Regions from separate parts of the Homo sapiens genome. Here all the other regions are linked to region 2. Evidence: promoter capture Hi-C in 16 types of primary human blood cells and fetal thymus (Javierre and others, 2016). All regions are on one chromosome and are shown on one strand. Each heading gives the region's core, a stretch centred on a gene start or on the middle of the fragment in contact. The rest is flanking DNA. Distances are from core to core; before and after follow the strand shown.

The links. Contacts are between HindIII fragments. The CHiCAGO score rates a contact against its expected background, and 5 or more counts as called.
Region 1: a fragment that was not itself captured here is called in contact with the fragment with the promoter of HAPLN3 in region 2 in 2 of 17 cell types (naive CD4 T cells and total CD4 T cells); the score reaches 5.3 in naive CD4 T cells.
Region 3: a contact is called between a fragment that was not itself captured here and the fragment with the promoter of HAPLN3 in region 2, in 5 of 17 cell types (naive CD8 T cells, naive B cells, total CD4 T cells and 2 more). The highest score is 8.6, in naive CD8 T cells.
Region 4: a fragment that was not itself captured here is called in contact with the fragment with the promoter of HAPLN3 in region 2 in 5 of 17 cell types (naive CD8 T cells, total CD4 T cells, activated CD4 T cells and 2 more); the score reaches 7.2 in naive CD8 T cells.
Region 5: a contact is called between a fragment that was not itself captured here and the fragment with the promoter of HAPLN3 in region 2, in 3 of 17 cell types (naive CD8 T cells, naive CD4 T cells and total CD4 T cells). The highest score is 6.4, in naive CD8 T cells.
Region 6: a fragment that was not itself captured here is called in contact with the fragment with the promoter of HAPLN3 in region 2 in 1 of 17 cell types (total B cells); the score reaches 5.2 in total B cells.
Region 7: a contact is called between a fragment that was not itself captured here and the fragment with the promoter of HAPLN3 in region 2, in 7 of 17 cell types (naive CD8 T cells, non-activated CD4 T cells, total CD4 T cells and 4 more). The highest score is 11.0, in naive CD8 T cells.

The regions. Positions count from the first base shown.
Region 1 is chr15:89,074,350-89,077,790 of GRCh38, reverse strand. CARMAL (coronary artery disease region linked MFGE8 regulatory lncRNA) reads right to left here. Exons shown (of 4, transcript NR_183882.1): 3 at 2,407-2,495. It also overlaps a transcript of ABHD2 not described here. Among named protein-coding and RNA genes, the nearest start is that of ABHD2, 12 kb to the left of the region's middle. The HindIII fragment of the contact is 5,614 bases long and covers 1-3,441 here.
Region 2 is chr15:88,894,082-88,897,679 of GRCh38, reverse strand. HAPLN3 (hyaluronan and proteoglycan link protein 3) reads left to right here and starts at 2,136. Exons shown (of 5, transcript NM_178232.4): 1 at 2,136-2,221. RefSeq lists enhancers at 22-71, 8-302, 2,299-2,910. The HindIII fragment of the contact is 19,838 bases long and covers 1-3,598 here.
Region 3 is chr15:88,674,305-88,677,401 of GRCh38, reverse strand. No RefSeq gene overlaps it. Among named protein-coding and RNA genes, the nearest start is that of ISG20, 37 kb to the right of the region's middle. The HindIII fragment of the contact is 1,417 bases long and covers 600-2,016 here.
Region 4 is chr15:89,033,839-89,037,126 of GRCh38, reverse strand. No RefSeq gene overlaps it. Among named protein-coding and RNA genes, the nearest start is that of CARMAL, 5.5 kb to the left of the region's middle. The HindIII fragment of the contact is 6,015 bases long and covers 1-3,288 here.
Region 5 is chr15:89,104,218-89,107,653 of GRCh38, reverse strand. All of the region lies in intron 1 of ABHD2 (abhydrolase domain containing 2, acylglycerol lipase), which reads right to left. LOC124903573 reads left to right here and starts at 1,122. Exons shown (of 7, transcript XM_047433432.1): 1 at 1,122-1,214. The coding sequence starts at 1,122. The HindIII fragment of the contact is 3,052 bases long and covers 1-2,880 here.
Region 6 is chr15:88,696,689-88,699,987 of GRCh38, reverse strand. No RefSeq gene overlaps it. Among named protein-coding and RNA genes, the nearest start is that of ISG20, 59 kb to the right of the region's middle. The HindIII fragment of the contact is 1,045 bases long and covers 975-2,019 here.
Region 7 is chr15:89,055,887-89,059,323 of GRCh38, reverse strand. All of the region lies in intron 1 of CARMAL (coronary artery disease region linked MFGE8 regulatory lncRNA), which reads right to left. It also overlaps a transcript of ABHD2 not described here. Among named protein-coding and RNA genes, the nearest start is that of CARMAL, 17 kb to the right of the region's middle. The HindIII fragment of the contact is 778 bases long and covers 1,031-1,808 here.

The DNA.
Region 1 (3,441 bases), core at 942-3,441, 180 kb before region 2:
GAATGAAACTTGGCAGGAGGAGAAAAACAGTGAAGGAGCTTGAGAAGTTACCACCACAAAGGGAGGAAGGGTTGACAGCTAACATTTATAAAACCCTTACTAAGAGACAAGCACGATTCTAAGAGTTTTAGATTTTTTTAAATATTTAATCCTCCCAATAACTCCACAGGGTGAATATGATTATGCCTGTTTTACAGATTAAGAAACTGAGGCCAGAGAGGTAAAATAATGTGCTTGAGGTCACAAAAGTGATATTAAGTAAACCCAAAATTAAAACCTTGGCAACATGAGCATGCATAATTCTCATTCTTAAGTATGTACCCAAAGAAACACACGGACAATAACATTCACAATAGCACCATTCGTAATAGCTTAAGATTGTAAACTGTCCAAATGTCCATCAACACTAGAATGGATAAACAGATTGTAGAACATTCATATTCAATGGAATACTATGCAGCATTGGGAATGAACAAATCATTACGATAAGCATGCCACCAGCATAAAGGTGAGTGAAAGAAGCCAGTCATCCAAGAAATGTATGCTATGATTTTATTTATATAAAGTTCAAAAAGAGGTAACACATGGCTGTGGTGTGAAAAAGTCACCTGACCTTTGTGAGGTGGTAGAGACTGGGAAAGGGCCTGAGAGGGGGTTCTTGGGTGCCAGTGATGCCCTGTTCCTGAGCTGGGTGGTGGTTACACAGGTGTGTTCACTTATGAAAATTCATCAAGCTGCTCACTTATGATTCATGTACTTTTCTGTGTGTAGGTAACAAACAAAAAGTACTAAAAAACAAGAAAGCAAAATAGAACCAGGGCATCTGATTTGAGGACCTACCCCCTTAACCACAGAGTGATCCAGAGAACAAGGGTCTTTTCTCCTCTTCCACAAAGAAAAATGTGGAAGGGGACCTTATAAAATTATAAATTTAAAAGAAATTGAAGAGATAGATCAACCAAATGGAATGTATGGGTCTTATTAGCATCCAAATGAAAACAAACCGTAGCTGGGTATTATGGATCATGCCTGTAATCCTAGCACTTTGGAAGGCTGGGGCAAGTGGATCACTTGAGCCCAGGAGTTTGAGACTGGCCTGGGCAACATGGTGAGACCTCATCTCTACAAAAATACAAAAAAGTAGCTGGACATGGTGGCATGCACCTGTAGTCCCAGCTACTTGGGAGGCTGAGGTGGGAAGATCACCTGAGCCCAGGAGGTAGAGGCTGCAATGGGTCATGATCGCACCACTGCACTCCAGCCTGGGTAACAGAGCAAGATCCTGTCTCAAAAAGAAACGAAACAAAACAAAACAAAAATTAAACTGTAAAAGACAATAACAAAACAATTGGGGAATGAATATTAATTATATTATGATTATGTTTTATAAAAAGTCCTTCTATTTCAGAGATACATATTGACATACTGATGGATGAAAGAATGTCTGGCATTTGCTCCACAAGAATGAGGATACGAGTGTTGAGATGAAAGATTGGCCATGGATTGATCATTGCTGAAGGTGGATGATATCTACCTGGACTTCACTGTACTTTGTCTATTTGTTTGAGTATTTTGTGAAATAAGAAGTTTTTGCAAAAGAGAAGAAGAAAACTAACGTTCAGTGTGTTCGCAAAGGAACTGATTCCCTTGGCTCCATATTTTTAAATTTGGATCTCCTTTGAGAGAGAAAGAGAGCAAGCACATGGGTCACAGGACTAAAGGAGAAAGGGGACGTGTGGGTGGAGCATGAGCTTGCGATGCCTGCTCCTGTGGTTTTCTCTCTTCCTCTACTCCTCCACTGGAACAGTTCTGGCAAAGGCCACTGTGACCCCCACTCACTGCTGCATCCAGCAGTTGGCTTTCAGTTCTTCTTTACTTGACATCTTGGTAGCTTGGGACTCTGGTGGCCAGGCCCCCTGCTTGGGAAGCACCTCTGGTTTTCCTTTGTCCATTTCACAGCCTGCCCCATGGACTCTTCTTCCTGTGCCTGATTCTTCAGTCCTGGGCCTGTCCTCAGCCTGCTGCTCTTCTTCCCCATACCCTCTTCCCTGGTGGTTCTGTCCTCTCCCAGCGCTTGAGTTGCTGCCAGGGCTGTCTTTCTAAACAGCAGTTCTCACCAACTGATTCCCTTGTGAAGACCCAGGAATAGCTTCCCATTGCCCAAATGATAACATTCAAACTCTTCCTGGAGGTACAGGAGGCCCTTCAGCATCTTTTTTCGCCTCCACTTCCTTTCTACCTTCCCTCTCTAGCCTTCCCTCCTTCTCCTCCCCTTCACACCCTCCGAGTCAGCCAGTGACATTATCAACACTTCTGGAATGCACCAGGCCGTTCCTTGCTCCCATACCTTTGACTCGATCTGGACTACTCACCCACACACTTCCCTACCTGGAAAACTCTACTCACCCTTTGAGACTCTGCTGCAAGCTCACTCCATCCATAAAGGCTTTCCTCATCTTCCTGTGGAGTTCATTCATCCATTCAATCATCCATTCCTAATAGATGTAGATGCAAAGACCTATGATAAGGCTGAGTGCTGGGGGCCAGAACCCACATCATTCACACTTTACCTCACAGTTCCTATCTCAGGTATTGCCTTACTTACATGATAGCTGCTCCCAAGCCCTACCCCTTGAGGCCAAGGAGGGTGACTTATTCCTCTTTGTACCCAAGTGATAGTAGGCACTAAAACACGCTTGTTCAATTGAATTGAAAGAGAAGAATTACCGAGAAAAGGCCTCTGGGTTTGGCCATTCAAACACTTTTGATAAACTTTGGGTGTCTCTGTACTAAAGTTTAGGGTTGGGGGTGAAGGGAATGAGGCTTTTTCTCCTGAGGGTTAAGGAGAAGCCAGGAATTGGTACCGCTGTAGGCCACTTGCTTGAGAAATGTTATCAGTGATATGAGGCAGGAAACAGGATGACAGCAAGATTGAGTGATGGCGGAGTTCAGCATATTTTAAAAGACAGATAGGGAAGAGCTAGTGGAAGTAGACTTGAGACGCTGGTGAGAGGCAATGTTCCAGAAGAAAATGACAAAGCAAGCTAGGTTCTTTTCTTTGTTGGGGAGGGGTTGGAGACAGGTGAACCTCATACAGGCCTGGGGGCAGCTCTTCCTCTAAGATGGAAGGGAAGGCTAGAAAGTGGAGGAGTCATAGCAGCCACTTCGGGTGCCTGCCTTATGCCAGACTCTTTCATTTCCATTACACTTAATCCTCAGTCTTCATTTTCAGATAAGGAGAATGGCTCAGTGTTTCAGTGGTTTTCCACCTGGTGACACATTAGAATCCCCTGAGGAATTTGTTAAAACAGTGCATCTGGGTCTCACTCCCAGCTTTCCTGATTTAATTTGATCTGGGAAAGAACACTGGCATCAGAATTGTTTAAGATCTTCAGGTGACTCTTTTTTTTTTTTTCAGATGGAGTTTCGCTCTTGCCCCCC
Region 2 (3,598 bases), core at 887-3,386:
GGGAAGGGGTGTAGGAAAAACCACCCTCTTTGTCAAGGTGAATTTTTCCAAACTTTGGGAGCCGGCTGTGTTCTGCAGGCAGGGGGTGCATCTGAGCAGCAGGAGGTGGGGCCGCCTCTGAGCAGCAGGAGGTGGGGCCGCCTCTGAGCAGCAGGAGGTGGGGCCACAGGGCTGCCAAAGGGAGGGCGTGGCTTTGCTGGAACCACATCAGGGAAATGTGTCTGGAAGTGGTTCCTTTCTGAGACCTGCGGTTGCTGGGCTCCTGGGCCTAGCAGGGTCTGAATAAAAGGCCCAGGCCGTGGTCTTCGTAGGAACTGAGGATGGGGGACTCCCTTCCCCTGGGTGTCCCTTGGCCTACTGCCTCCCGTTTCAGAGCTCTCTTCTGCGGAGCGGTGTGGATTGGGTTTAGAGCCAAGCCTTTCTGCGTGCTTCCAAGCCTCAGGTCTCCCTCCCGGGGGAGTTTCCTGCCCTGAACCCCTGTTCCAGCATACCCTGGGGATAAGCAGACAGTGGGAGAAGCATCTCTGCTCTGGGATGGGTTGGCCACAGCCTTCTAAAAGTCCCCCTCCTGGGACCCTGGAGTGGAGTCCCCTCACTCCTGACCCCCTCCTTCCTTCCTTGGCTTCTCTCCCTCAGCAGTGTCTTCCATTTGCCCAGCTTTTACCATCACCCCTACACATTGACTTTTTTCTGCCCCACTGCAAGGCAGAGGGTGAGCGTTCAGATTCCACCTGCTGGCTACCCCTACCCCTGGCTGGCATGTTCAACTCGACTTAACTGTAGCAAAATGTGCTCTCCCTACTGTCCATCCTCTCCCCTGTCGGGAACCTGCAGAGGGACCTACCTTGGCTCCCCTTTGCCCATCAAGCCTGGCGTTCCTTTTAGGTGTAGTTTACCTGTTGATCACAGTTCTTTGTGCTCCAATGTGCCCCTGGCTGTGTGTAACACACACACATGCACACACACACACACACTCATGGGCCAACTTGAGCTGTGTTTAGGAAGAGGCTCTGAGCTCTGTGACCCTGTGACCCTTCGACCCTTCCCCCAGCCAAAGCTGAAGGACCTCCTTAGTCTTTTCTGCTGAGGAAACATCGGGCTGTCCAGGCCAGGGCCCCCATTGGTCTGGACAGGAAAGAAAACACCCTGTCCAAACAGAGGCATCCTGAGCGGCTGCCTGGATGGCTGTGCTGATTAGCAGGATTCCGAAGGGAGGCCCACCCCTGTTGGAGGACCACTCAGAAGCCTGATTGCCCCTGCAGGCTGCAGAGGTATCCCACCCTGTGTCTCCCCTCCCAGCCAGGGCCACTCATTCAAGCCCCATGTGCTGGGGATAGCACCTGCTATGTGCCTGACAGTGAGTTGGGAATCTGGCCAGTGTTTCATGATGGCCAAACTCAGGGGCATGAGGACATCAGCAACCCCTTGCTTTTTTTTTTTTTTTTTTTTTGAGACGGAGTTTTGCTCTTGTTGCCCAGGCTGGAGCACAATGGCATGATCTCAGCTCACTGCAACCTCCGCCTCCTGGGTTCAAGCAATTCTCCTGCCTCAGCCTCCCAAGTAGCTGGGATTACAGGCATGCTCCACCACGCCCAGCTAATTTTGTATTTTTAGTAGGGACAGGGTTTCACCATGTTGCCCAGGCTGGTCTTGAACTCCTGACCTCAGGTGATCCACCGGCCTCCACCTCCCAAAGTGCTGGGGTTACAAGCATGAGCCACTCACTGCACCTGGCCTCACCCCCTTGCTTTCTATTTGGAAAAGAAAGTAATACAGAAGTCTCACCCCTTCCACAATCAAAGGTGGGGAGCAGCCTTAGCCCCTAGCAGAATGCTGGACAGGGGCTTCCCCTGCTTACTCCCACTGTTTTTGGTATACCAGGCTTTCTAAGGGGATCCCCCCTCCCCAAACTCTCCTATTCCACCCCTACTCTCCTTTCCCAAGACGTGAGGGCCTCAACTCTTGCACACCCTCTTTGCGGTGGTTCCCAGCGAGTCTGGAGACCGCTCAAGCCTGCAGCAGCTCCTCCCTTCGAGCCCAGCCCTTGGGAGGGAAAGGTGCGCGTGTTCCTTTAAGGGGCTGGTCTGGCGGGAGCGCGGGGGTTTTTCTGCTGCCGCTTCCTTTCTGCCCTTTTAATTTCCCCGAAATCAGACTGCTGCCTTGGACCGGGACAGCTCGCGGCCCCCGAGAGCTCTAGCCGTCGAGGAGCTGCCTGGGGACGGTACGTGGCTTAGGGGTCGCTGGGCTTCTGGGGCTGTGTGCGGGCCGGGTTCCTCCCTTACCGCTTTGGGTGCCCTGCGGGTCCCCACACCTCCCGGGCAGGGTCCGGGGAAGGGGCAGGAGGCGTGGGCCGGGCACTGCGGAGGCCCGGGCTGAGATGGGCTGTGATCGCGGGCGAGGGGCGCCCGGGGCACAAGTGGGGAGGGAGCGGCGCGGGGATGCGGGCGCCGGACCCTCGTGCCCACCGTGAGGGAGCAGAGCCCGAGCGGACCCCGTGGCCTCCGAGACCACCGTCCGCCTCCAGCCCCCTTCCTGCCAGGGTCCGCTTGGCTCTCTCCCCTGTCGTCTGTCCAGGGTCGGCTGCCTCCAGTGCCGTCCGCGGCGCCCCAGGCCCTGCCCCTGGGTATCTGTTGGATGCTCCGGGGGCCCCGGGAGTCCTGGGAGGGGCTGAGGGCAACCTGCGAGGCGGCTGGCGGACCTGCGCCTCTGGACCGCAGCTGGCCGGCTCTGGGCGCCTGGGGCAAAGGCAACTGATGCCTATGGGTTCCAGACCTCGCTCACCGGGGTTCTTGCCCCAGGGACAGCGAGGCCAGAAGGGTAGGGAGGGTGGAGGGCAGAGCCCTGGGTGGGAGATGGCGACCCTCAGGGAGAAACGTAGGCTTGTGCGCAGCCAGTATGGAAACAGCACGGCACTTGGACCCAGTCCTGCCACCAGCTCGTTGGCAGCCACAGGCCACAGGCAGCCTGTAAACCTGTTGGGACCTTGGTGTCCAGCGCTGACCCGCGGGAGTGCCTGTGCTCCCTGGAGTAGGGGGCAGCGATTGAGAGGGGCCCTGGCTTCTCTCCCTCGACGCCGCCCGGGCCAGCGGATTGGGAAACACCTCCGGTTTTCATTCTCCTGGGGGCTGCAGGTTTCAAAGGCGGAGATCAAGCCTTGTGCAAACAGGGACAGGGATGTCAAATTTCTCGCTGGGAGCAGCGCTCGTGCAGACCTCGCGGGCGATGCTGCCTCCTGCTGGTACCTGGGGGACTTGTACTCACGGAAGGCCCAGTGCGGACATGCACCTGGCAGGGAGGTGGCACCTACCCTCCCTCCAAGCCCAGGCTTATTGTTCTTGGGTGGAGGGGTCCCTAGGCTGGGGCGCCTGGGAAAAGCAAAGGGCTGGTCATCAGGAAACCTGAACTTTCTCTAAGTTCGAGATATTTGACAAAGATAACGCCTTGGGTAGTTCACTGACCTCCACTCTCTTGGCCTCAGTTTCCTCAACTGTGAAGAGGAGGCAGTGGTGACCACTTTGTCTCGTAGGCAGTGAGAGAGGAGAAAGAGCCACTGAGATGGTGTAAGACTTCACTGTGTGAACTGCTCACCAGAGTAGTA
Region 3 (3,097 bases), core at 59-2,558, 220 kb after region 2:
TTTCTGGCTTGAATGACTTGGGTGGATGAGAAAGTCCTGAAGTCAAGATAGAAATACATGAGAAAGGTAAAATGGGAACGGTGAGGCTGTGTAAGAGTATGGGACATGTTGAGTTTGAAATGCCTGCAGATTGTCCAGTTGAAAAGATTAGAACTTAAGAAAGACACTGGTGGATCATCAGCTAAAGGAGTGATTGTAGTTATAGACTTAAGTAAAATTTCCCAGTGAGACAAGGCAGAGTGAGAAACAGAGATGACTGAGAAGGAAGTGCTAAGAAGAAAATGCTGACATTTAAGTGGCAGGCAGAAGAGGGATCTACAAAGGGGTAGAGAGTGAGCTGGAAAGAAGGAGAGGCTGGTTATACAAAAAAATAATAATAATAAAAGAGAGTTCCAGGAGATTGTGGTTGACATTAATATATGCTGCGGAGAAATCACACAGGATAAGCACTGGAAAGTGTCCATTGGATTTGAGTATTGGAAGGTCATTGAGAATGCAGGTTAGAGCAGTTTCAGTGAAGTCTTGAGGACAGACACCAGGAAATTCAGAAGGAGAAGAAAAGACAATACAGTAAATACAGGCTGCCCTGGGGTAAAGCTTGACTGTGAGGGGAAGGGGAGATATGGCAGTAGCTGGAGAGGAGCTGGAGTGATGGGAACATATGAAAGTGAAGAGTGTGCTGAGGGTGGAACTTACTGTTTCTTGACCTCAATCCAATGGAACATCCAAATATTGACTCAGGGTCTTAAAGGGGAAAAATATTTTTAAATCCCTAAAACATGATAAAACGTGAGTCATGATGACAGTGAATGAAATCAGTTGTGTCTGGCCGGGCGCGGTGGCTTACACCTGTTAATCCTAGCATTTTGGGAGGCCAAGGTGGGGGATCACCTGAGGTCAGGAGTTCAAGACCAGCCCGACCAACATGGTGAAACCCCATCTCTACTAAAAATACAGAAATTAGCCGGGCGTGGTGGCACAAGCCTGTAATTCCAGCTACTTGGGAGGCTGAGGCAGGAGAATTGCTTGAACCTGGGAGGCAGAGGTTGCAGTGAGCCAAGATTGTGCCACCACACTGCAGCCTGGGCGAGAGAGCAATACTGTCTCAAAAAAAAAAAAAAAAAAAAAAAGGAATATGTCTATTTGTTATTAAACAATAAACAGTGCAAATTTGGGGGTGAAAATAGGAAATAAAAGCAAAGACAATAAAGGTTATTATTGTGGAGGAATCTGCCAATACCAACTCAGAGTTATCTTTCTGGTTTGCTTAGTCTGTTCACTTCTGAGAGGAGTATATTACTATCTTCAACTATTATTGTTGCTTTATTTAGTTCTGTTCATGATTCTTCCAGCTGTTGTTTCATCAAGACTGTCCAGTGTAGTAGGTAGTAGACACATGTGGCTATTTACATTTTAATTGGCAGGGCACAGTGGCTCATGCCTGTATTCCCAGCACTTTGGGAGTCCAACATAGGAGAATCACTTGATCCCAGGAGTTTGAGACCAGCCTGGGTAACATAGTGAGACCTGCAAACAATTTAAAAAAAATTAGTCGGGTATGATGATGCACGCCTATAGTCCCAACTACTTGAGAGGCTGAGGCAGGAGAATTGCTTGAGTCCAGGAGGTGGAGGCTACAATGAGCCATGATCCTGCCACTGGGCAATAGAGGAAGACCCTGTCTCAAAAAATAAATAAATAAGTCTGAATTAATTAAAGTTAAATCTTCAATTCCTGAGTCACAGTAGCCACATTTCAAGTGTTCAGCAGCCACATGTTGTTAGTGGTTACTGTATTGAACAATGCAGATATAGAACATTTCTGTCACTGCAGAAAGTTCTTTTGGACTGCCTGGCATTATATAATCCTGGGCTATATTGCTAGATGCATATATGTTTATGTTTATGTCTTCTTGGTCTGTGTTCCTTTTATTAATCCATAAAATGCCTCTTTGTCCCTTATGATGTTTGTTACTTGAAATTCTATTTCTAAGAATTTAAATTTGCAACCCAAGCTTTAATTGGTTTATATTTATTCAACACATTTTTCTCCATATCTCTTTTTACCTGCCACACCTAAAATCTACAAATTTGTTAATAAAATGTTTCTGTTTTCTTGCTGATCAAAGTGATAAAGCAATCACAGAAAATAAAAAGACATTTGATACAAAATTGATACAAAATCACAGAAAATAGACATTTGAGCTTGTTGAAAAAAAAATCACATTAAAAAAATTCATGTTGGTTGATTCAGATCTATCTCATTGATATTCAGCAACCATTTTTCTGCTTTTATTGACTTCTTACTGAATTTCTCCTGGGAAGCAATAAAAAATAATTTGTTTCCTTAAATCCAATCACTTTCTGTGGCAAGCTGAAAAATGGTCCACCAAAAGATATCCACATCAAATCCCTGGAATCTATGAATGTTGCCTTACTTGGAAGAAAGAACTTTGTCAATGTTATTAAATTAAGCACCTTGAAATGAGGAGCTAATCCTGGATTATCTGGGTGGGTCCTGAATGCTATTGCAAGTCTCCCCATGAAAGAGAGGCAGAAGGAGATTATACGTCACCACATGCAGAAAGGGCTATGTGAAGATGGAGGCAGGCGTTGGAATGATGCTGCTGTAAGCCAAAGAACACCATGGAATGCCAGCAGCCACCAGAAGCTAGAAGAGACAAGGAATGGATTCACCGCAGAGCCTGCAGAGGGGGGCTGGCCTCGCCAACACCTTGATTTTAGATCTGGCCTCCAGAACTGTGAGAGAATATATTTCTGTTGTTTTAAGCCCTCAAGGTTGTGATATTTGTTACAACAGCCCTAGGGAAAAATACACTCCTATAACTTCCCTATCTTCAGCCAGAACTCCAACTCTATTTTCCGCCAACAAGAAGTTGAGAAATTTCTCAACTTGTAATTTCTCAACTTTTTCCAACTACAATTCAAAATATCTCTCTAGCCACCTTTTCTAACCCCTCTCCCATTGGTATGGTCAGAACTATTCTTCCTTCCTTTTCCCCAGGCTAACGTCTGCATTCAAGCTCTGTCCCATCTTTTATATTCCATGACCCTGGGCCTTCAGTCACCCTCTCTGA
Region 4 (3,288 bases), core at 252-2,751, 140 kb before region 2:
CTGCTAAACGGAGAGGCAAAAGATTCAGAATAGCCAACACAATGTTGAAGAAGAAGAAGAAGTCGGAGGACTGATACTACCCAACTTCAAGGCTTACTATAAAGCCACGGTAATCAAGAGACTGTGATATTGATAAAAGAATAGGCAAATAGATGAATAGAACAGAATAGAGAGCCCAGAAACAGACCCACATAGCTATACTCAACTGATGTTTGATAAAGGAGCAAGGATAATACAATGGAAAAAAAGACAGTATTTTCAACAAATGGTCCTGGAACAACTGGACATCCATATGCAAATAAAAAAAAAAAGAATTCAGACACAGACCTTGCACCCTTCATAAAAATGAAGTCGAAATGGCTCACAGACCTATATGTAAAGCACTAAACTATAAAACTTCTAGAAGACAACAAAGGAGGAAATCTGGATGATGTTGCGTATGGACATGACTTTTTTGATGCAACACCACAGGCATTAACCATGAAAGAAATCATTGATAAATTGGACTTCAATAAATTAGAGAAACTTCTGCTCTGTGAAAAACACTGTCAAGAGAATTAGAAGACAAGCCACCAACTGGGAAAAAGTATTTGGAAAAGACACCTGATAAAAGATTGTTATCCAAAATATACAAAGAACTGTTAAAGCTCAACAATAAGAAAATGAACAACCCAGCTGAAAAATGGACAAGCGACTGGAACAGACACCTCACCAAAGATTTTACAAATGAAGTAAGCATGTGAAAAGATGCTCCACATCATGTGTCATCAGGGAACTTCAAATTAGATCAACAATGCGAGGACCCAAACACGTGTGTTGCTCCACATCCTCACCAGCATTTAGTGTTGTCAGTGTTCTGGATTTGGGTCATCTCATTGAATCAGTGTGAATGAATGAACTCTCATTCATTGCTGATGGGAACGCAAAATGCTACAGGTTCTTCAGGCTCTTTGGAAGACAATTTGATGGTTTCTTTTCTTTTTTTTTTTTTTTTTTTTTGAGACAGGGGCTTGCCCTGTCACCCAGGCTGGAGTGCAGTGGCAAGATCACGGCTAACTGCAGTCTCTAACTCCTGGGCTCAAACAATCCTCCCACCTCAGCCTCCTGAATAGCTGGGACTACAGGCATGTGCTACCATACCAGGCTAATTTCTAAAACAAAAATTTTGTAGAGACAGAGTCTTCCTATGTTGCCCAGGCTGGTCTCAGACTCCTGGACTCGTGATCTTCCTACCTTGGACTTCCAAAGTGTTGAGATTGTAGGCATGAGTCACCACTCCCAGCCTAATTTGGCGGTTTCTTACAAAACTAAATATACTTTTACCATATGAACTAGCAATTGTGCTGCTTGGTATTGACCCAAATGAATTAAAAACTGGTGTCCACACAGAAATCTGCCCATGGATGTTTATAATCAGCTTTATTTATAATCATCAAAATGTGGAAGCAAGCAAGATGTCCTTCAGTAGGTGAATGTGTAAATAAACTATAGGTACTTCCAGACAATGGAATATTATTCAGCACTAAAAGAAATGGGCTTTGGGTGATAATAATGTGTCAATGTAGGTTCATTGATTATAACAAATTTACCTCTCTGTTGCAGAATGTTGATAGTGGGGGAGGCTGTGTATGTGTAGGGCCAGGGAGTGTATGAGAACGCTCTGTACTTCTAAATTTTGCTGTGAACTAAAACTGCTCTAAAAGATAAAGTCTATTTAAAAAAAGACTGCCAGTTAACTATATGACATGATGCCATAACGACAGCCTTGCATGACACATGATTGATCACACCAGCCCTTCATGGCTTTGAAATTTCTTGCATCTATTCTGAGAGATCTGGCAATTTCCCCAGTCTTAAATTGCATTGTCTGGCATGAATTTGAGTAGGTAACATTCCTTTTTCTCTTTTGGGTATCTTCCACTTTGGGGTCCTCAAATGGACCAAGCATGCATCAGCAGCATCAATATCACCAGAGGGCTTGTTAGAAACGTGGAATCTGAGGCCAGACGCCGTGGCTCACACCTGTAATCCCAGCACTTTGGGAGGCGGAGGTGGGCAGATCATGAGGTCAGGAGTTCGAGACCAGCCTGGCCAACATGGTGAAACCCTGTCTCTACTAAAAGTACAAAAAATTAGCCAGGCGTGGGGGTATGTGCCTGTAGTCCCAGCTACTTGGGAAGCTGAGGCAGGAGAATCGCTTGAACCCGGGAGGCTGAGGTTGCAGTTAGCAGAGATCGCACCATTGCACTCCAGCCTGGGTGACAGAGCAAGACTCCATCTCAAAAAAAAAAAAAAAAAAAAAAAAAGAAATGTGGAATCTGACCCATGCCAGACTTAGTGAATCAAAATCTGTGTTTTATCCAGATCCCAGCGGATTTGTGTGCACATTGCAGTCAGAGAGGTACTGCTGCTGAAAACCTCTCAATGGTTGCTCTGCAAGAAAATATGGAATGGAAATCATTACTCTAACAATTCATAAATTCGCTTCACTAATATCAATTTTGCACCTCACTGTTGTTTCTGTAACTTTCTGCATCCACAGTGACCTTTCATTTAAATGCTGATAGTACCGTCTTTTTGAAGATATTTTAAATAGCAAGTAAAGTCAGCGCATGTAGCGTCAACAATGCACATAAATCATTTGAAATGATGACAATACCAAAGCTATAGCCAAGTTTGCTCAAGTGCAGGCAATGGTATCAATGTGATGAGAGCCACCTAGCTGACAGCTATTGTAAGACACATCCTGATTTCAGAGATGTTAAAATGTGAAAAAACATGTATATCTTAGAAGTCAATGAAATATGGTAACAAAATAGGCTGCTTCTGGGGTAGGAACTGGATGGCTAGAGAATAAATGGGAGGGAGATATTTCATTGTATCTTCTATTTTGTAATCCCAGGACCCAAACCCCAAATCTCTGAATCACTTGTGTACTACTCAGTGATAGTAGACACTGTTTTTAATGTAATTTAAGATTGACTTGGCTTGGTGGTGGCTTATATCTGTAATCCCAGCACTTTGGGAAGCCAAGGCGGGTAGATCACCTGAGGTCAGGAGTTCAAGACCACCTTGGCCAACATGGTGAAACCCTATCTCTATTAAAAATACAAAAATTAGCCAGGCATGGTGGCGGGCACCTGTAATCCTAGCTATTCGGGAGGCTGAGGCAGGAGAATTGCTTGAACCCAGGAGGTGGAGGTTGCAGTGAGCTGAGAACGTGTCATCATATTACAGCCTGGGTGACAAGAGCGAGACTCTGTCTCAAATTAAAAAAAAAAAAATTGC
Region 5 (3,436 bases), core at 105-2,604, 210 kb before region 2:
GTTCCTTAATCCCTCTGAACACCATCTGTAAACTGAACATGTTAATACATAAAGAGCATTTTAAAACAATGCCGGCATACAATACTACCGTATTTTTAATATTTTGGGGTACTACCGCAAAATATTCGCTATTACCATCTCCACTATTAAACTTTCCTCCATTTTGCCTCAGTAAACAACCTAAGTTGACAGATAGAAACGACCACAAAACATACTCCTTCCTAACTGACACACAAGTCTCATTAGCAATGAACTCACTAGCTGATTAACTGCTTGGGCCTCCTCCAATGAGTTTAAAATTAATTCCAGGACATACTCTTCTTGATTCTTCTAAAATGGAACCATATCTTCTAAAATGGAACCATGTTAGACTTAATAAATCACTGGATACTAAGTGGTGATCATCATGTCCCATAAACAGTTCCAAGATGCATTGTTCTTGTTTTCTGTGCTAAAATGCATCCTTGGCAGTGCACAGCTGGAACCCCTGCTCCTGACACCACCCCTCTCCTGCTGAGGGGCTTCTCCTGCCCATGGAAAGACTACCCATTCTTCCCTGCAGGTAAAAATCCCCTCTTGCCTAGCCTGGATCTCCCAGCAAACTGTAATGCCCTGAGATAAAACTTTGTCCCCCAAAGTACCCTGTGAGGATGTCAGGAGAAGGACAGCAGAAGGCCACAGCACACCACCCCAAAAACATGGTCTGTTTCCATCCCATGTCATTCTGATTTTTCAGCCTCTTTGGTGGCAGCTTAGATAAAAGTACAACCCCATCTTAACTTGATTACATCTGCAAAGACCCAATTTCCAAATAAGGTCACATTCACTGGTTTCAGATGGGACATAAATTTTGGAGGGTCACTATTGAACTTGCTACACCAGATAAAAGTGGTCAACCTTAAATGTGGGCAACATGACACCCTTGGAGAGAAAGTAAGGAGGAAATGGGCCACCTTCTCCCCACTTTATCTGCCATTTAACTAAATTAGTCAGAGCCATCATAGGGGGAAAAAAACCATTCTGCAGGGACGAAAACAAGCCCAGATGATTTTGGGGAGAAGGCCTAGCCATCCCCGTCTGAGTTGTGCCTTTGTGTCCTCTGAGTCTTTCACTGCCATGGGATGGGAGAGCCTCAGAACATAGCCAGGAGGCTTCGGGAACTGCACAGCCCTGGCGACCCGGCCCTGTTCTCACTCTCGGTAAGGTCTAATGAGGTGAGTGAGCACCTTAGCCAGCAGCTCACAGACCCACCTTTTAGCAAATCGGTGTTGGTCTAGGACCACGTGTCCTCCCACAGAGGGTTCTGTGGAATGGAGTCATCACGGTGCTCAAATACTCTGGGTTTGTTTGTTTTTGAGATGGAGTTTCGCTCTTGTCGCCCAAGCTGCAGTGCAATGGCACAATCTCAGGTCACTGCAACCTCTGCCTCCTGGGTTCAAGCCTCTGGCGTAGCTGGGATTACAGGTGGGTGCCACCATGCCCCACTAATTTATTGCATTTTTAGTAAAAACGGGGTTTCACCATGTTAGCCAGGCTGGTCTCGAACTCCTGACCTCAGGTGATCCACCTGCCTCGGCCTCCCAAAGTGCTGGAATTACAGGCGTGAGCTACTGCACCTGGCCAATACTCTGGGTTTTAAAAGACCACCTCTCGGCTGGGCACAGTGGCTTACATCTATAATCCTGGCCATTTGGGAGGCCAAGGAGGGTGGATTGCTTGAGCCCAGGAGTTCAAGACTAGCCTGTGTGACATGGAGAAACTCCGTCTCTATTGTTTAAAAGAAAAAAAAAAAAGACCTCCTCTCACCACCACCACCACCTCAAGCCAGAAGGGATGGGAAAGCCCTGGAAACAATAGGGCCAATCCTGTTTTCCAGAGATGCTGAGAAACACTGATTTTTGAACATTAACTAACTCAAGCCAGGGACTGCCCTGAAAGGGCGGGAGTGGGTTACCATAACAAGGAAGGATAAAGCCCTTGGTTGATCCAGTCCATCTCTTACAAACCAGGTCCTACAAGGTGAAGGGATCATCAAGTCACACACAATTTAGTAGAAGAGAACTGGAGGGATTGACAGATAATTAAATGTATTTACGGCAAGGTTGCCCTTTGTTGTATTCAAGATAAGTCCTTGAAATTGTCTTTCTGTGCAAACCTACTCATGTGATAACAGTTTTATTTAGCCATATTTCTTCCACAAAGTCATAAGGTCACACACTCAATCTGCTGGAATTTCAGAAAATAGTCTACAAGTTCTCAGGGGGAGTCAAGTTACCCAATGCAGGAAAACGTGAACCTCACATTTAAATGTCAGGAATGGCTACTAACCCATGAGCTTCCACAAAGAAAGTTACCAAACTAAAAATGTCTGAAGACTGAGTCACCAGTTAAACAGGAACATTTAATCGGGCACTTTTACGTGCCCTTACTAAAATACTGAAAGGAAGCTGGCCTCTTCCACTAGCAAATAACCCTGCTGAAAGAATAGTACTGGCTATGAGAGAACGAATGGGTAAAGCACTTAGTAAAATCACAGGCAAAATTGTTTTCTCTTTCACTGAGAAACCATGAATCCATACCTGAGAACAAACAAAAAAATCTTACGCCAGGTGTTTCCTCTAGGGAGGTTCTAGATTTTCTAAGAGAACAGGCATATGAATTGTGAGATTTATCCTAAACATATTTTTAAAAATCTACACCATAATTAAATTCTGTAATATCAGAAGCAAAATTGCAGTTTACCAGAACCCAATGAGCTCAAGTGCCTAGTTTACTGGAATTTTTAAGAGAAGGATACAACTGAAGAAGAGGGCATCTCCAGATTGATTGTCCTGGGCACCATAGAGATGCCACCCACTCTTCTATGTCTGGAAATAAGCTTCCAGAAGGAGGAAATGGAGATGGGGGTGGGAGGGCAAGACCCAGTGCCTGGCACAACCGTTGCCTGAAGAACCACTCAACCCATCTAACTCCCTAAGGCAGGCAAAGAAGAAAGTTTCACCCAGACCTGCAACAGAAAAGGACTTACAGCTACTCTCAGTTAATGAGAAAATAAAAATAACTGGGACTCACCGTTCCTGAGCGTTCTGGTTTCCCAACGCCGACTGGGAGCAGACAAGGCTCCCAGTGCCCCCAGTACTTGGCTAATACACACTGTGGGGCCCGTGATGACAGCATTAACACGTGCAGCCCATTATCACTCTAACAGTCTTGCATTTCACCATGGCAGGCATTTGTGAGGAAACCCGACCAATGACCAATGGGCCACGACCCTCTCCTCCCCTGCCAATTCAGCAGGGATGAGAACAAGCCCAGATGATTTTGCCAAAGGAGAGACTTGCTCGGCCCACTCACCCCAGCTGGGCAAAGCTGAGGTCACTCACCCATCCATCTCTTTCAGCTGTGTGGCTCTCTGATGCTGAATTCTGCCACCTGG
Region 6 (3,299 bases), core at 248-2,747, 200 kb after region 2:
CCCAGCCCTTGGCTGGCCCTCTGCCTTCTAGTTCAGCTCTGCGTCTGTCTCCCTGAGTCACCTTGAGAAATCACTGAACCTTGGCTCTCCCATCTGCACAATGGTGGATTGCATTGGTTGGTTTTTGAGGGTCTTCTCAGTTCAGACTTTCTGGAAAATCCAGGAACCTGGATGCAGATATTCATATAACTGGGTTCAGACTGACAAACCTAACACAGGCACCTGATTATGCTGGGATGCTGGTCGCTCCATGTGCCCCCATGCTGTCTAAAAAGAGTTTTCTCCTGGGCATTTGCATCCATCCTCCTGGGGAGGTGAACGATGTTGGGCTGATCTATAGCCCCCTCATCCCTTCCCCTCTTTGAAAAGAACCGTAGAGGAGGTCTTGGTGCCGACATTTGGGGTAGAGGTAGAGGGTGGGGAGGTGAGGCTACAGAGGAAGGGGTTGGGAATGGACTGCATGGGCAGGGGCTGGAGGGTGCTGAGCTCTGGAGAGCGCTGAGCTCCCAGCTGTCCATTGTAAAACTGGATCTGATTTCAGCTTATGGCTCAATGTGTCACAGGAGAGAGAGGACCCATCCGGAGGAGAAAGAGTGCCGTCTGCTCCCCAGCAAGGGGAGAGCTCTTTGTGTGCCAGCATGGCCCAGCACTTGCTGTTGGTGATGGTCTTGTACTCACCGGTGAAAGAAGGGTGGGCAAGGGGTTGGGGGTGGTCTGTGAGAGGCCTGGAACACCCAGGCTGGGCACAGCTGCCTGTGCCAGCAAGCTTAGCTGAGATAAGATCTTGTTCTGGGCTTGAGAACAGGGCTCTGGCTTCCCTGGAACGTGACCTACTCATCCCAGAGTAAAGTGGAGTGTTCTGGAAAGGATGGAAGGATGGATGGAGGGATAAAATTAAACTGATCTGAGGGAAGAATCCCTAGTGACTTTTTCTAGATGAATAACTTATATAAACAAGAGAGAGAAACTAAGCTTTATGTCCGTGTTTTGAGCCTGATGAACTAAGAGAACGAGCCTGAAAGGGATAGCTGCCAGTTGCGGGTTGGGGAAGGAGATGGAGGGGAGTGGAGATCAGGCAACGATGACTTGGTTTGAGACCTGTTGAGTTTGAAGCCAGGGAAGGAAAGCTGGGGAAACATCTGGCTTGCAGCTAGAGATTGGGAGAGGGACCCTTGTCTAGATGTGCATATAGATTTGGAAATTTCAATACATAGAGATGATAGTGAAGGTTCTACGAATGTGTCAGTCCTCAAAGGAGAGATATTAAAGCAAAAGAAGGGGAATGAAGGCAGGTAGATCCTTGAGGGTGTTCACGGTTTAGGAGCTGATAAGGGACATGAGGGCAGTGGAAAGGGAAGCATGAAGCCTCCGGAGAACCCGTGGAGAAGGGCATTACCCTCAACTCTTGTGGCGCTCAAAGGGAAGGAAAATGGAAAAAAACAAACTGGACTTGCTGTCTGGTGAATCCCAGGAGAGAATTTTGGTAAACTGTTGACAAGGGGAAGTCATGATTGAAGGGACTAAGGAAGGATTGTCTATGTTCCCTCTAGATTGTTGAGGCATCTTGCTTTGCACGGGTGAAACACTGATTGTATCCAGCCATCACATTTGCCACTTACAGTCATATAGCCTGAAATGTCTAAATAGGATTGTCTCAGGACAGGGTCCCTGGAAATAGAGCACGGGCTCTATCATGCATCATGTATCACTTGCTAGTGATAGTAAGAAAGAATTCTGTGCTATATGTTAGAAGATCTAGTTTCTGGTTCTTGCTCTGGTGCTAACCAGCCAGATCACTCAACCAGAGCTCTTTATCCAACATTAGTGAGTTACTTATCACTCCTTATCTTGTACTGCTGTTTCCATTGCACTCTCCCTAACTCAACATTATCTTATACATAGTAGCTGCTCAATAAATACATTTGCTGAAAGGATGGACAGATGAATGGCTAAGTGGATGAATGACAGGTTCTGGAGTTCAGTTGCCTATCTGTAAACCAAGGGATATGAAGTCAAGCTTCCATACATTTCCTCACACCTCAAATCATCTGTGGCTATGCTGTTTTGATCTAAGCAGAGTTCTTCCAAAGTTGCTTAGAACCTGCACACCTGGGCCAATCAGGCTTTTGTAGATCATTCAATGTAATATCCTTCTGAGCCATTGTCACATCTCCACGGCCTTTCCTTTATGATCGGTGAGAGGATCTTAGAAGATTAATACTAAGTATTTGTTGAATGAAAAAGAAATCATTTCCAATTATAACCTGACACATTTAAGGATCTATGGCATGTGGGTCTCATGGTAGACAACACGCTCTACAGTGTTTGCCAGCTGTTTGAAGATTATCCTACACAACGGGGCAGGATGTACTCCCATAGCCAGTTTCTGGTGTGACATCTGAATGTGGCTTTGCAGCTTTGGGCTTGGGCGTGTCCTTACGTCCATGAGGCCATCAACACAGCACTCGGAAGCATCATGTCTGGGCCCCTGCCACAGTGTAAGAGAGAAGCTGACAATTTGGAACATGCCCAGAGGCAAGTGGCCAGGATGGTGAAGGGTCTGGAAATGTCACAGGCGATGAATGGGAAAAGAACCGAGGGAATTCGCCAGAAGAGAGAGACACATGATAGCTGCCTGCAAAGACTTGAAGGGTTGTAACAAAAGGTGTGTCCAAGCTAACCTGGACTAGGGTTTGGCTTTTTCCCTACGTGGGCCTCCTGAGAACAGACCTGCCAGTGGCAGATATAAGTTACAGAGAGGCCAATTTCAGCTCAGTCTAAGAACTTAAGAAGATTTTTTTCAACTGAGTTATAACAACATAGAATTGAAGGAGAGAATGCATGAGCATTGCCAGGACTGAAGGAAAGGAGATCTCATCAAATGGGTAGTTGGTCTAGGTGAATTTTCAGAGCTCTTGCAATGTGGAGCCTCCAGAACTCTAAATAATTGAGCCCGTTAGTACAAAGAGAGAGCTCCTTGCTTTGTCAATTTAGAAATCGTCTGCTGGTCTTCACTGTGGTTCATCTAATTCCTGGCTGGTCTCCTCTAAACACATTCCTCTATTCAGTGGTTTTGGCCTCCCAATTGAAATGACTATAAGCCTCTCTCCTCTACGTGTTTAACAAAAAATATATTTTTAATTCTTTTTTTCCAAATAAAGAGCTTAGGAGGTCTCAGGAAGACTGTCCCCAAATGGAGAAATTCCATAAGAAACAAACAAACAAACAAGCCTCCAAGCAAAAATTATACGGCCGTAAAAATCAAACCCTCAAGATTCCGTTTGCCTGGCTGTCCAGAA
Region 7 (3,437 bases), core at 170-2,669, 160 kb before region 2:
TGCCAGCTTGTCTAGCCACAGCGAACATTTTGTGAGGATGTGAGTGGGTGTCAAGTGGCTCGCCTGGGTGGGCAGATGTACCCCTCTTCCTGGATCCCCTGGCATATGGGCATTGGTGAGACTGCAGAGCTGTGACCAGGTACAGCAGAGAAGAGAGCCCCAAACATGGAAGAGGGCATGATGGGAGATGCTGGAGAGGAGAGAAAATTTCCATTTGGCTTTTTGAGCTTCTTGTCAGGTCCTCAGAGCACAGCAACTTGGCAGCTCTCTGCGTGCCCCATTCCTAGTCTTCCTTCATGAATTTTTCATTTCAGGCAAAGAGCCCTTATCTTTCGCTGGAGCTGCTTTCCCATCAGCTGGTGACTAGGCAGATGAAGGTTGCATTAAGGCAGGAATTATCCATCCCTTGAGAGAGAAATGGCACTCTGTGCCCTTGAAAGGATGGCTTCTGCGCCACCACCCATTACTGCAGGCTTCTGTCCAACGTTGGATTGCTGTTTTTATTGAGATATTGTTGAGGGCTGAAAGAGAAAGGCTTCAAGGGCAGATACTATGGTCTTGTCTGAAGAGTGAGGTCTTTCCTGCTGCCAATCATTGGACATGAGGGGGCTCCACAGCAGGAAAGAGGAATTAAGAAGGGACTTGGCCTGTCACAACCCAGATTTCCAGGAGTCTCGATGTCCAGGGGCACTCCTGAGGGATGGAGGGAGTTAAGGATGTCATCTCTCCTTGTCCCCATCCCCTGGGCCCAGAGCAGGAGAAGCTCCTGCTGTGCACCTCCTCGGGCCATGTTCCTTTCTACAAAGGGAGTCCATACACCCACCCAAGACTAGGCTCCGTGTACCAGGACCCCAGAGTTTCTGTCCAAATTACAGCAAGCCCTCTTCTGTGCCTGCGGGGCATCTTCATTTTCTCTAGGTCTCTCTTCCCAAGAGTGGACCTCACTACCTGTGTTCACATGCTAGGTACTAGGAGTGGCCAAGGGGTAGCTGTTTTCAGGGTTGTAAGGGGTGTGGGTGTGGAGGAAGCTTGGATGTGTGAGCTGGAGTATCCACACGTATGTGAGGCTCCTCACGATCTGAAAGGATGAGCGTGGGTGGGTGGACCTGGGGCCAGAAGTGGAGAGCCAGGGGAATGGATCTCCAAGGAGGCTGAAAATCCTAAAAGTCAACCTGGTCTTTTAGGTGGTTATGAAGGTATCTACCTCAAGGCGGAAGGATGGAGCATACTTCATTTAAGGGTTTATCAGCTTGACTGAACAACTTGAAAATATGCAGACATAGAGTATGTGAGCTTCCATTCGTTCTCTTGCCTGGCGCCCCACAAATGTTGGTGGGCTTAATTTGTAAGTGGGGAGCTAGGGAGTCCTAGTCCTGGGGTCCCTGATGGACTGGGTAGAGGGCGAAGAGCTGCAGGAAAGAAGTCAGACCTGGCAAACTAAAGTTTTGACTCACGGTGTCCCCTGAATCTATCTTCGTTTTCTTAGTCCTCAGCTTTTAGGACAGTGTGATTGGAAAGTTCTGGCAGGTTTGTTTCTTTCTTTTTTTTTTTTCATTCCTTCTTATTAATAGCGGGTTTCACTGGGAAGCCGCATGGTGGCAATAGATGGCCCCAGTTGGAGAGGGAGCAGCGCCACCCTGAGGCCATGGAGGGAATGGCAGCAGGAATGGGGGTGAGCCCAACGGGGCCTGCCTCTCAGGAGCCCATGCACCAGGCACGCCCCCACCGTGATTCCACGACCATGGCTAAACAAGAAGGGGCTGTATTCTTACCCTCTTACCAAAAATAGCATTTTCACCATTGAAGCTTCCCAAAGAACTCTCAGCTGTTTGCTAACCATGAAAATCAATCCTTGGAGTTCCAGAGGCGGCCAGTCCCCAACTTCCCAGTGGTCACTGTGTAACCCCTGCCCTACCTCATCTTCAGAAACCCCATCATCACTGCGCCAAACCCCAAAGGGAAGTGGAGATGAAGGAAGGGAATTAGCTATGAGCAGCTTAGAAGAGCTAACCCGGGGGTGGCTTCTCAAGCAGAACTCACATGCTTACAAAGGGGCTTCAATAGATCCTTTACCCTTTTCACTTAACACTTTTAAAAATGGTATCACGCTGGCCTAGCGCAGTGGCTCATGCTTGTAATCCCAGCACTTTGGGAGGCTGACGCAGGCGGATCACCTGAGGTCAGGAGTTCAAGACCAGCCTGCTAACACGGTGAAACCCCATTTCTACTAAAAATACAAAAAATTAGCCGGGCGTGGTGGCGTGTGCCTGTAATCCCAGCTACTCAGGAGGCTGAGGCAGGAGAATCGCTTGAACCCGGGAGGCGGAGATTGCAGTGAGCCGAGATGGCGCCATTGCACTCCAGCTTGGGCAACAAGCGCAAAACTCCATCTCAAAAAAAAAAAAAAAAAAAAAAGGTATCACTTATAAACTGGATTAACAGTGTGAAAAAAATTTAATGCCTACTGACTATATTTCCTGACTGCCTGCACACAAACTCTGACAGGTAGAGATTGCTATTGTCCCATTTTACAGACAAGAAAACTGAGGCCCAGTGAGGTGAATGACTCACTCAAGGTCATGTTGTAATAAGTAGTGCTGCTGGGTCTGATTTTTTTCATTGCACTGTTCTATCTTTTGCAAGCACCCTGAAGGAATTTTATTTTTTTATTTTATTTTTTTGAGATGGAGTCTTGCTCTGTCGCCCAGGCTGGAGTGCAGTGGTGCGAACTCGGCTCACTGCAAATTCCACCTCCCGGGTTCACGTCATTCTCCTGCCTCAGCCTCCTGAGTAGCTGGGACCACAGGCACCTGCCACCATGCCTGGCTAATTTTTTTGTATTTTTAGTAGAGACGGGGTTTCACCGTGTTAGCCAGGATGGTCTCGATCTGTGCCCGGTGCCTGAAGGAATTAAAGATTCAAATTCCTGCCACAATCCTGCACTGGGGCATGGTGTTCTTTCTTACTGTGTCATTCAAGTTGCAAAATCCATACATATTCTTGTAACTAAGCAAATATCTCCAATGCCATCTCCTGAGGTGAGCAATATTAACAGTTTTGTGAGTTTTTTTCCTATTATTTTCCCTAGGAAGATACGAATAGTTACAAATTAAAAATTCGTAGAGGGATTCCCACCTCCATTTACAAAATTTTAATTAAAAGCAAAAATCAGGCTAGGCGTGGCAGCTCACATCTGTAATCCCAGCACTTTGGGAGTCTGTGGTCAGAGGATTGCTTGAGGCCAGGAGTTTGAGACCAGCCTGTGCAACATAGGCAGACTCTGTCTCTACAAAATATTTTTAAAAATTAGCTGGGCATGGTGACTCCAGCTACTCAGGAGGCTGAGGCAGGAGGATTGTGTGAGCCCGGGAGGTCAAGACTGCAGTGAGCCGTGATCACGCCACTGCACTCCAGCCTGGATGACAGAGTGAGACCCA